Linked DNA regions of Homo sapiens: region 2 is linked to region 1. The links are contacts of gene promoters, found by promoter capture Hi-C in human tissues and cell types (Jung and others, 2019). All regions are on one chromosome and are shown on one strand. The core of a region is centred on a gene start or on the middle of the fragment in contact, and the rest is flanking DNA. Distances in the headings are between cores, read along the strand shown. Region 1 holds the start of OSER1 (oxidative stress responsive serine rich 1). Region 2 has its middle 8.4 kb from the start of SGK2.

Region 1 (6,307 bases), core at 1,020-3,519:
ATATTTTGCTGGTTTATTTAAGTACATAAACATGAAGAAACATTATCCACACAATCCCATGCTTCACTAGTCTCTAATTCTCAGTTTAGGGTAGGATCCCCCAAATACACAATCAATTCCTATATACCTGGGGGGAGAGGTGAGCAATCACTTATTTCAATATTTTCAAAGCTTCACATCATCTAAAAGAGTACTATTGCAGGTTGTAAACAAATCCTTCCTGCTGGTAGAACTAAATTGAAGTTTGACTTACAATGTTCCTCAATTACCTTATGATCCGTTAGTCAATGTTCAGCTCTTACCGAGTTCATAAATCATCTGAGCCAATCTCCCCAACCCGCAGACCGCCCCCCAAGTCCTCTTTAGCCCTCTCTGGAAATCAGTCAGCATTTACGTACACATCACATTTAAGTATACACTGCTGAACCCTACAGGCAGAAATTCATTTCTTTCACAAATATTTACAGAATTCCTACCACGTGCATGGCACTAGAATGAATGCTAGGGATAGAAGCCCAAACTCCATTTCCGTAAGGACTAGAATCTCATTCCTGCCCTCCAAGAGCTTACAATGTAACACTGTGCTAAGAGGCTCTGAACCTACATATGTAACTTTTAATTATACCATGCTGACTTAATAGCATGGCAGGTGATCACCCTAGATGTTAATACAAACTTTACATTCCTGTTGACACACTAAAAGATCTATCATCTAAAAACCAAAACAGGCCAGAATTAAAATCTGGCTACAGACTAAAACTTCAGGAATGAAGTTCTGTCTAAACCATTTTCAGACTTCCAGCATTTTTTTACTACTCACTTTTTTTCTCAGTTATTTTAGCCAAGAGCAAATGAGCGTTAGGCATAACCTTAAGAGCTAGAGAAGAGCATGTTTGTAATTATAAAAGGCTCATTATGCTCCTCTGCATCCCCAGATCCCCATTCAAAGAAAGGGCTGTACAACTAACTCCGGACAACAGATATAATTGGCTTGCCTTTCTTCATTAATATTAAATTTGTGGGAGACAGTCTTGGCGTTTTCACTGCAGTGAACTCGTGAAGTTGAACAATCTCCAAAGAGATGAAACTTTAAAAAGCCTATTCGAAGTTAAAGTCAAATCACACCAGGCAATTTAACTTTGCCTCGGATTTTCCACAACCTTACAAAAATTACAAAGTTCTTCTAAGTTCCTCCATCAAAAGGCCAAATTCCTGGTTTTTTCTTTCAACAAAATGGATGCGTCACAATCTTATTTACATCTTGCCGTTTTAACCAAGACCTCCTTGAATCCCAAGCCTAGGTCTACACTTCCAGGCCCCTGAGAAGACCTAAGAACGATCAAGAAGGGATGCGCGGGTAAGCGTTGTCATCACAACATTAAAGATTTCGAAACTCCCAGACCACCAGAAAGCGTAGAGTATGGGGAAGAAAACCAAACCCAGCAACTCTAAGAGGCAAACTAGACCGGGAGGAAACAATCGGCCCCCAGGACAAAAAGCACATTCACACCTCTCCGTGCAACCCACTCATCCCTTTATACTCGCAGCGCTGCAGCCAAAGCACAAAGTTCTTTCTTTTCACCCAGAGTCTGTGCCTGTCGCGGTTAAACATGAACGGAGGAAAATTCCTAGTCAGAACCCAGAGGGGTAGGACGGGGCTTGGAGTGTGGGGACAACGCCAAGCAGGGAGCTGTCCAGGGGCACTGCCCGCCCGGGGTCTCCAGCTGTGAAGTTGCGCTCCTCGGGAGATTCCTGGGGTCAGAACGAGAGGCTGGAGTCGGAGCGAGGCACAAGGGATGCGGGAGAAGAAAGGAGTGGGGCCGAAGAGGTAGCCAAAGAGAATGGGGCTCCGAGGCGAGAGAGAAAGGACTGGAAGGGGCAAAGGGCGGCCAAGGAGGGCGAAAAGGGGAAGCTGCCGCTGGGCGGGAGACGGCGGAGGAGCGAGACGGGGCGGGGGACCGCGGGAGGACGGGAAGGCGGGAAGGGGAGAGAGCGTGGAGCTCGGAGCTCCAGCAGGCACAGGCCGCGGCAGATAAGGGGGCGCGGAGAGGCCCAGGCCCGGCCCAGGCAGGAGGCGTCGGGAGACGACGCGACCCAAGGCGGGCGGGCCCGGGGAAAACCGCCCGCGGCCAGACCGGCAGTGGAAGCTGAGACGCAGTGCTGCGGCCCCTCCCCGTCACGTCAGGGCACTTACCTCCTCGCAGCTGGGACGCTCCGGTGATGCGGGGCAGTCAGTTCAGAGCGTCTCTCCCAAATCTCGGCACCCGACTGACCCGGATCCAAACCAGCCAAGGGGGCGGCCCGCGCCTCGGGAGTCGCGTTGCGCCTGCGCACTCCGGCATGCACCCCTCCCCCTGCTTATGCTCCTCCCACCCCAGTGACTCGGCAGCGCGGCAGCCGACGACTGCGCAGACGCAGGGCGGCGGCCGCGCCTCTCCAACGCCCCGCACCCGCCCCCCTCAGAAGCACGTGCGCCTTACGTAATTTCCTGTTATTCTTCGGTTTGCCTCCTCCCAGTGGCGTGGATTTGCTCCCGACCCGCTTTTGGGGCGTGCCTGCTTCCTCCTCTCTGTTAGGTGAGTGAGTAGGCGTCATTCTTCACAGTAGTCCTCTGCCTCCACCGCCCCGGGATCTCCTTGCGCTCGGTCCTCTACGTGGAGTCACCTATGCAGAGGAATTCCACGGGGCGGGGGCGAGGACAGGGTGCGGGGGTCTTTATGGCAGACAATCCCCGGCTGAGCGCTTGGCCAGAGTTTCTGTGATGCTAGAATCTGGACTGCCTGCGACCTCTCCGGGACTCGGACACCAGCCCTCGCCTCCTGGTGATCTTTTAGGTCCTGCAGAGAAGTGAAGAGGTATTGGACGTGGCCAGGGTCAATAGTGTGAAGCCAGAATTAGAATTGAATTGAAATGCCTTCGGTTTTGATATCTCTGCTGTTTGTCTTGAGGCAACTGCTTTTCCTCCTTTGGGCCTCTCAGTTTTCCATCTAGTAAGTGAGGAAGTTGAACCTTATCGGTGAATCTCGTGTTTTCAGGCGTAGACTCCTTTGAGAATCTGGTGAGAACTGTAGATCCTCTTGCCAAAGAAATGCACCTACACACCAAATTTTGCAAAAAGATTTAGGCAGTTCACCAAAGGAGATGAATTTTAGGATTCTTTACATTTTTCTGATTCTGAATGTTGCTCAGATGGTAGGCGGGAAAAGGTGATCTGTGCAACAGCTGCCACCCGCTCCATCACCAGGACTGGTTCTGCTGATCTAGCTGTGCCTCTCCTCGCCTGCCAATCTCCAGCTCCACGTCTGCACTGCTCAAAGCTTCGTGAGAACAGATGATTTTGCGCAATTGAGTTGGATGGCGTTGATTGTGGCCCACCCCTAGAGTGAGGGTTTTTCCCTGAACCAAAACTGGCCCCATCCACCGTCATTCCCCAATACCTTAGTTGTAGTCAACTAGATAGGCTGCCGAAGATGGTTTAACTGTGTCCAGCTTAACTACAGCCAGGCTTTGGAATGCCTGGCCTATGTCTGTAAATGAAATCTAACAATTTATTGTATAACGTTGTTAAACATGAAGCATGATGTTGGCCCTGGATAAAACATTTTAAATTCTCGTCGTTCATACCAGAGGCTCAGTAACTGACCGGTTGAAAGAAAACTGTTCATTGTAACCTAATGATGCTAGTTAGATAGCATTAGATTATGTTAGAGATCAGATAACTTGTTCTAGCTGCCTTTGTCCTGTCTCACAGTGCTAGTAAGTCAGGATTTAAACTGCCCTTCTCAACATCTCTTGGACAAGAAAAAGCGGGAAATATGATGTATTTATTTTCTCAGACCTTGCCAAGTGAAATGTATCAAAACCAAACATGTCTTTTTAAGCTGCCACTTCAAAATATAACTTAAGATAAAATCTCATATATCCTTGAGAAGGCCTGGCACGGTAGCTCATGCCTATAATCCCAGCACTTTGGGAGGCCGAGGCGGGTGGATCACTTGAGGTCAGGAGTTTGAGACCAGCCTGGCCAACATGGCGAAACCCTTTCTCTACTAAAAATATGAAAAATTGGCTGGGCATGGTGGCGCATGCACCTATAATCCCAGCTACCCGGGAGGCTGAGGCAGGAGAATCTCTGAAGCCGGGAGGCGGAGGTTGCAGTGAGCCGAGATTGCGCCACTGCACTCCAGCCTGGGCCAACAGAGCAAAACTGTCTCAAAAAAAAAAAAAAAATCTCATATATCCTTGAGGGGAAAGAATTGTCTGGATCGTGATTGAATTCCCAGGGCTTAGCACACTTCCTGGGGATTAGTAGATGCTCAATACAGTTTTGGTGAATTCTCATTTTACCTGCTTTCCATCCCTAATTATATTAAATACCAAAAACTAAAAAGTTACAGTATTTCATTTTATGTAAGCACATCTCCATCATAAAGAGTTAGATGCTTTCCAAGAATGTGACTCATTACTCGGGGAGTACTTGGAAGGTGGGAACCTCTTGTGAATGCTGAAGCCTGTTAACTCACACACCTGACGTGGCCTGAAGTTTTAAGTCATTATACATAGGACTGGCTCACGGTGTGATACATCATGACTTGGAAAGAGATAGAAAAGCTACAAAATGGGATGGATCTGAGTGAACAAAAAGCCAGATCGGTGTCCTATACCAGCAATTCCAAGTCTTTTTAACCATGGGAAAAAAACCTGAATTTGTGTGTGGACTTTATATTGAAGAAATCAACTTTGTATTAATGCACATGGTAATGCCATTTAATTAAAAAGCTGTGGTAGATGTAAAATTCCTCTAACAGTGCTTCTTTCTTGCTACAAGTGTCTTGTACATGCTTTAGTAAGAGAGACTTAATTCCATGAATTTATACTGCAAGAACAATTTATATAGGAAGATAATAGTTTCTCTTAAAAAATAACTTTGGAGAAGCCAAGTCCAAAGTAATAAAGAAAATTATTTGCCTAACCATGTGGCTGCCATCCTACCAGTTGGTAATCTGGAAAATATTCTGTTCTTATGTTTTAAGACTCAAATTAATTTATTTCTTACCTCGATATACTTTTTTAAATGACTTAGGGTAGGCCAGGCGTGGTGGCTCACGCCTGTAATCCCAACACTTTGGGAGGCTGAGGCAGGTGGATCACCTGAAGTCAAGAGTTCGAGACCAGCCTGGCTAACATGGTGAAACCCCATCTCTACTGAAAAATAAATAAATAAATATACAAAAATTAGCTGGGAGTGGTGGGCACACACCTGTAATCCTAGCTACTTGGAGGCTGAGGCATGAGAAGCCCTTGAACCCAGGAGGTGGAGGTTGCAGTGAGCTGAGATCATGCCACGGCACTCCAGCCTGGGCTACAGAGCAAGACCTTGTCTCAAAAAAAAAAATAAAATTAAATTAAAATGACTTTGGGATAGAAGATAGTGATAATGATTATTTGTCTTGATTTACAAGATGTTAGCTCATGTAATCTTCATAACCAATTTGTGAAATGTACTTCTATGATGTCTGTTTTACAGCTGAGGAAACTAGGCTCAGAATAGTTAGATAACTTGTCCAAGGTTACATAGTTTGTAAGTGGTAGAACGGGGATTCCAATCTAGGCAGTCTGACTATAGCACCCTGCTGACCGCTGAGTTACACTGCTTTCCTTAGCCTCCCCACCTTCACCTCCTGTATGTACCCAGCTAGACCAGGGATACCTGCTTTCACCTGGAAAATACCACTGGGTTTGAGGAAATTGGCTGCCCAGGGCCTAGGACTGTTCCAGCCACTCTTTCTTTGCATATATTTGAACCCAGCAGGCATATTTCCCTCTCAGGTCTTTTGTATGTATTTCCCCTCCTGGAGCATTGTTTACTCACAGTTCATCTTGTCATTCAAAGTCTCTGCTCATATCAGCTCCCCAGGGGGGTCTTCCTTGGCTTCCCCAGCACCCCCTTCACTGTGTATCCCTTTACCCTGCTTTATCATAGCACTTGTCACTACCTGACAATGTATAGTTATTTTTTGGTCCCCTCACTAGAATAGAAGCTACCCGAGGACAGGGACTTTGTGTCTTTTTTTTAGTCACTATTTTTTTTAATCAAAGATGCACATTTTCCCACAATTTATTAATAGCGGTTAGAAAATCTGAATGTGTCTTATAATCGCCAGTGTGTCCTGGTTTAATTGGTAGTATTTTTTTCTTTCTTACTTGTTCCTACAGTAAGTGGTGAGTCTTTAAAATGATGGTGTCTTAGAATTGATGAAAATACAGTGTATCCCCAAGGCCTGAACTCTATGTGGCACATAGTTGG
Region 2 (6,307 bases), core at 2,481-4,980, 660 kb before region 1:
TTTCAGAGTGTGGTTTTTTGGATTTGTCTTGTTGCTTTCTAGTGGTGTCACTTAACTTGTTCCTCTATCCCCTGTATTTCCCATGAACTGAAAGTTAGATCCAAAGGCTGGGTTAGACTTAGGTTAAATTTCTCACTGTCACTGTCTCTGTTTCTCTCTCTGTGTCTCTCTGTCTCCCCCTGCCCCCCTCTGCTTTTGGCAAGACTAGTTCCTAGGTGATACTATGTACTTTGTACTGCCTCATGTTGGAATGCACACAGTGTCTGCTTGTCTTGCTGTTAGCAGCACTAAGGTTGACCAATGAGGTCATGTGGGGACAACAAGAGCAGGTTTCTCAAAGCCAGTGTCTGTGAGGACTCAAAAGACATTTTGCGGATACAAATGCTAAACCTCAGACCAGTCAGCAGAAAGAGAGAAAGAGAACAAGTGTGTGAACACGGGGAAACCAGTGGCTGTCTTTCTTTCCTTCTCCGTCCCCATTGCTGTCTTCCTTTTTTCCTTTCTCCCTCCCTTCTCCTTTCTCCCGGTCCTTTCTCTCCCCTTCTCTCCTCCTTCCCTTTCTCCCGCATATCCTTTACTCCTACTCCCCTCCCCCATTCCCCATGCACACCCCTCCCTTTCCTTCACCCCTGCCCCGTGACCCTTTCCACCTTCTCCACTTTCCACCTCCCTCCCGCAACCCCTCAGATGATTGACGGCGAGGCCTTCCTTTTGCTGACACAGGCGGACATTGTGAAGATCATGAGCGTCAAGCTGGGCCCAGCCTTGAAGATCTATAACGCCATTCTCATGTTCAAAAACGCTGATGACACCTTAAAGTGACTGGCCCAGGGCTGGGCCCTCCTGCAGCCCCTGCTTGGCCTCCCTCTCCAGCTGATGCTTTCTTCCTGACCTGAATTCCTCATACCCCACACGTCCCCATGCTCCACCTATATCTGACCAGGCTGGTCCTTCTTAGAGGGTGCATGGGAGCTGAGGAGCCCTGGGGAGGGTAGGCACCCAGCCCCAAGTCCTAGAGCTCATTCGTCACCAGGCATGTTGGTGAGGGCGTGACTGGCAGGGGCATTACTCATGGAGTCAGTTGGACTGTGGCAGCCCCCACAGCCCCAGTGGACTTTTATTGTATTACCAAAGGGTCTTTTTCTTGGCAGTGGAGGAGAGACTAGTAGAGCAGCAGTCCTTCAATCTGAGGCCCCTTTCCCTTTTTTGGTATCTCTGTGTACTTTTCTCTCCTTGGCTCCTTTCCTCCTGCCAAGAAGTGACCCCACCACAAATGTATTTACTCCTGGAGGTACCTCCTCTCTTTCTGTCTGCTGGTTTTGCTGCCCTCATTCTGCTGCTTCGTTTCCTGGGCAGTGCCCCCAGCCAGACCCCACTGGCTCTTCCCCCTGAGATATGTGAACCTCGGAAACATGTTTTCCTAAGATCCCTTGGAAGTCTCTAGCTGCCTTTCTCTCTTTTGCCCAGAATTGAGAGATTTTGAGCCAAGATGCCTTCCTGAACTTACCCAGTTCTGGACCAGTTGGCATTTTAGTGTCCCACGCCAAGTCCAAGTTTCAGCAGAATGAGCAGGTGGTTTGAGCCTGTTTTATAGATGGCAGAGGTTGAGGTTCCACTGCTGTTTTCCATACACCCTTCATGTGTTGAGTCTGGGAAGGAGTAAGCCTAGCCTGCCAGTAGCCTAGGTTAGGAGACCAGCATAAGGATTTGTTAGACAATCTCGGGTCTTTGGCCAGAGGGGCAGCTCCAGCAGGCATAGTGGTGCCTGAAGTTAGGAATACTGTACTCTCTGTAGCTTTGGACCTCAGCCAAGGTATTGCCCATGGGGTGATGGCTCCAGGCCTGCCAGGCCTTCTGCCATGAGAATGTAGCACTCTGTGTAGCACACACCCCCATGACATCATTTAACCTGTCCCTTAAATGTTGACCATTAGCTCTTGCAGCGTCTTACAAAGACGACTTGAAGTTGGGAGTTAGGAAGGTGAACTTTTCTATCTGAATTCTCCGGGTCCCTGAAGCCCTCCTTGCCGCTCTCCATCTGTCTTGCACTGCCAGCTGGGTCCCTGCTGGGGCTCTGGGACTTCCACTTCTCAGTCCACATAGGAACCCAGCTTCCACTGAGTCACTGCCAAACCTGCCTCCCAGCCTGGGTGGGAAGGGGGAGAGCCACTGGTAGGAGCCAGCCCCACATGGAGGTGAGGAGCCACTGCCAACCTCCCGTGTCCAGGTGCTGATGTGGGCCTGCGGAGTGTGGGGCTGGTGCCTTCACCCAGACCCCTTCAATCATGTGATGTGTGTGTGTGTGCATGTGTGTGTGTGTGTGTGTGTGTGGCACTCTCAGAAGTGTTTGACAGGGTGCAGATGTGAGGCTTAGTGTTGGGAAAATGCCAAGGGCTATTATCATTAAAATTTGAAGCTTTATTTTTCCCTTAGAAGTGGGAAACCCAGAGCTCTGTTGATTTCCTACCACAACCCAGTAGGGGCCTCTCTCTGCCATGGGCTGGACAGCTTTTTGAGGAAGCCATTCAGCTCCCACAGTTGAGCTCCCACAGGGCTTTAGGTGTCCATTCCCTCTCAACTGCTTAGAGGCAGCTTTGAGCACAGCCTTCCTGGAAGGAAGCTAGGCAAGACCTGCCACACAGCGAAGGTTGGGTTTACAAGGGTGACATTGGTACCCCCTTGGCCAAGAGTAAAGAAGAACAAGTCTAAGCCTTGCTTTTATCTTAGTTGTCTGGGTGGTAGCAGAACTCATCAGCTCCTTATCCTCAGTCTGTTCCTCTATAAAAGATGAGAGATGTTCACTGACTTTGTGCAGTGAGAAGGCAGCAAGTACTCACGGCTGGTGCTGTGGGACCTCACAGCTTCTAAGGAGAGGGGCTGGGAGGGCCTTTGCCATCAGATCTGCCAAGCACCTAATGCTTGCCTGTGGTGAAGGCAAGATGGACCAAGGGCCTTGGAGAAAAGGGCTCCCAGGCTTCTGAACTTTGAGGCCTCAGCACTTTCTGCATTATCGTCAAACTCTTTGGAAAGAAACCAAATCATTAAAAAGTAGAAAGAAATCTGCCTCTTGTCTGCCCTACTGCCCCTTTACCCCCACTCTGTCCCCAAATGATATTATTGCACCTTGACCTGGGAGCGCAGAGAGGGGAGGGAGTTGGCAGAGACTTCTGGTGCCCTCTGCCCTCCTAGCAACAGATGCCACTTATATTTTGGCCCCTGGCAGCCTCGCCCAGCCCCTGATCAGCCCAGGCCTAGGGCAGTTAGGACCTTTCTGTTTATTTTCTGAAGCAGAGAGAATGATCTCAGAGTTTGCAAATGAAGCCTTTTTTGCACTTTCATTCACATGCACTTTGGTGGGGTTACATTTTTGTACTTGCCTCTTGTGTGTGCACATGTGTGTATGTGTTCTTTAAGAGAATCTTCTGGCTTAAGCTAAGGTGACTCTTGAAGGAGAAAAAGTTACAAACAAAATGTGGTGTGATCTGTCAGTGTATCAAAACAACATAAATAAACTTGAACAACTGATACGCAGCCAGAGTCTGTTTCTATTTTCATGATAAAACATCCAGAGAACACAAAATGGTTATCAGTAGTGGCACTACTGAAGAGACTAAAGTGTTCTCTTTGTTGTTAGTTAGGGGTCCTTATAGTTTTTAAGGAAAGAAACAAAGGATAAGGATAAATGGGTATCTGTCTGCACTGAAAGTGTAAACAGTGGGAACTCCCAGAGATCGGTGTGTAAAAGGGCCTGATCCTTAACATTTGATAAATGGTCAAGGGCAGAAAATTCAATGAAACCTGTAATTTTTAAAATAATAATATCAGCTGGGCACAGTGGCTCACACCTGTAATCCTAGCCACTTTGGAGGGCCAAGGAGGGAGGATCACATGAGGCCAGGAGTTCAAGACCATCCTGGGTAACGTAGCTAGATCCTGTCTCTATAAAAAAAAAAAAAAAAAAGTATTTTTTATGGTGGCATATGCCTGTAGTCCCGGTTACTTAGGAGGCTGAGGCGGGAGGATCACCTGAGCCCAGGAGTTCGAGGCTGCAGTGAGCTGTGATTGCAACACTGTGCTCTATCCCAGTGCTCAAATAAAAAATGAAAACATCAAACTTTCAGATGGGGAAATGTCAACCTGAACAGTTAGATTTTGTTAAGCTTCCCAGAGACTACAAGCAGGTGGGAAGGTGGCACCTTTCCCACCTTAAAGTGTTTGATCACTTTAACTGCTTTCTCGTCAATATCCTTAATTTCTTTGCCCTGCTGCTGTTCCAGATCACTTGTCTAGAAGCTCCAACCATGGAGCTGTCCGAGAGCGCATCCTCTCCACACCACAACTGGGAACCTACCTGACCGAGATTGGTGCCATGATAGACTGGTAGACCCTGGCTTCAATGTGAACTGAACCCTCAGGGCTACCCAGGAAGCACGTAGGGTCTGGGGGCTTTAGCTCTGACTTCCCTTTTCATGCTTCTCAAACCTCCTACCCCATTGTCTTGACAGATATCCTTACCATCCATGTCACAGAGAAAGTGGAAGTCATAGGAAGAAACACCTTCACCTTCCTGCCGTCTCATCTGCATGTCTCCTCCCACCCCCATTCATTCTGTTTCTTTCCTATTACAGTGGAAGACTTGATGCTTCCAACTTGTCAGAAGCTAATCTTCTACTAGCCATAGCTGCAATAAAAGGAAAAGAAACATTAAGAGACAGGAAGAGGCTTTTGGACATTTAAAATGGGATTATGGAGATAAAAATTCAACACAAGGGTCAAAAGATAAAGTTGAGGACATTTCCCAGTAGGCAGAATAAAAAGAAAAAGAGAGGCCGGGCCTGGTGGCTCATGCCTGTAATCCCAGCACTTTGGGAGGCCAAGGCAGGCAGATCACGAGGTCAGGAGTCTGAGACCAGACTGACCAACGTGGTGAAACCCCGTCTCTACCAAAAATACAAAAATTAGCCAGACATGGTGGTGCGCTCCTGTAATCCCAGCTACTCAGGAGGCTGAGGCAGGAGAATTGCTTGAACCCGGGAGGCAGAGGTTGCAGTGAGCCGAGATTGCACCACTGTACTCCAGCCTGGGTGGCAGAGTGAGACTTCACATCAAAAAAAAAAAAAAAAAAGAAAAGAAAAAAAAAGAAAAGATGAGAAATGGGAAAGAAGAAAATATCAGAGGACTAGTTGGAGGCCCAAATATATGATTAATAGAAATTCTAATAAGAGAGAACCGAGAAAACAAATTATATCAAAAACAAACAACAAACTTGTATACTGAAAACAATAAAACATTGCTGAAAGAAATTCAAGAACACCTAACTAAATGGAAAGAGATCTGTGTTCATGGCTAGGAAGACTTAATATTGTTAAGATGTCAATATTACCCAAAGATATTTACATATTCAATGCAATCCCTATCAAAATCTCAGCTGATTATTTTTTTCTTGCAGAAATGGAAAGACAGATCCTTAAATTCCTATGGAATTGCATGAGGCCTCAGATAGCCCAAACAATCTTAATAAAGTATAACAAAGTTGAAGAACAAACCGATTTCTTTCTTTCTTTCTTTTCTTTTTCTTTTTCTTTTTTTTTTTTACAGAGTTTTGCTCTCGTTGCCCAGGCTGGAATGCAAAGCCACAATAATCAAAACAGTGTGTTACTGGCATAAGGACAAATAGACCAATAGGATGGAATTCAGAGTCTAAAAACAAGTCCATATGTCCATAACCAATTGAAATTTTTTTTTTTTTTTTTTTGAGACAGAGTCTCGCCCTGTTGCCCAGGCTGGAGTGCAGTGGCGCGATCTTGGCTCACTGCAAGCTCCGCCTCCCGGGTTCACGCCATTCTCCTGCCTCAGCCTCTTGAGTAGCTGGGACTACAGGTGCCCGCCACCATGCCCGGCTAATTTTTTGTATTTTTAATAGAGGCGAGGTTTCACCGTGTTAGCCAGGATGGTCTCGATCTCCTGACCTCGTGACCCACCCGCCTTGGCCTCCCAAAGTGCTGGGATTACAGGCGTGAGCCACCACGCCCGGCCTAACCAATTGATTTTCAGTAAGAATGCCAAGTCCATTAAATGGGGAAAGTACAGTTTCTTCAACAAATGGGTCTGGGGTAACTGGATTTATACTTGTAAAAGAATGAAATTGGATACCTACCTCACCCCATATTCAAGAATTAACTCAAAATGGATTGATGACCTAAATATAAGAACTAAAACTATAAAACCCTAAGAAGAAAACATAAAGGTATATCTTCATGACCTTGGAATTGGCAATGAATTCTTAGCTATGGCACCAAAAGCATAA

What was found. Contacts are between HindIII fragments. The study calls those that stand out against the background at their distance.
Region 2: a fragment that was not itself captured here is called in contact with the fragment with the promoter of OSER1 in region 1 in 1 of the 25 tissues and cell types used here (small bowel).

Annotation. Positions count from the first base shown.
Region 1 is chr20:44,208,502-44,214,808 of GRCh38, forward strand. OSER1 (oxidative stress responsive serine rich 1) reads right to left here and starts at 2,270. Exons shown (of 4, transcript NM_016470.8): 1 at 2,195-2,270. It overlaps OSER1-DT (OSER1 divergent transcript), which reads left to right and starts at 2,459. Exons shown (of 3, transcript NR_038339.2): 1 at 2,459-2,576. RefSeq lists an enhancer at 1,680-2,299 and silencers at 1,959-2,028, 2,224-2,672. The HindIII fragment of the contact is 11,638 bases long and covers 1-6,307 here.
Region 2 is chr20:43,547,424-43,553,730 of GRCh38, forward strand. It overlaps a transcript of L3MBTL1 not described here. Among named protein-coding and RNA genes, the nearest start is that of SGK2, 8.4 kb to the right of the region's middle. The HindIII fragment of the contact is 6,762 bases long and covers 350-6,307 here.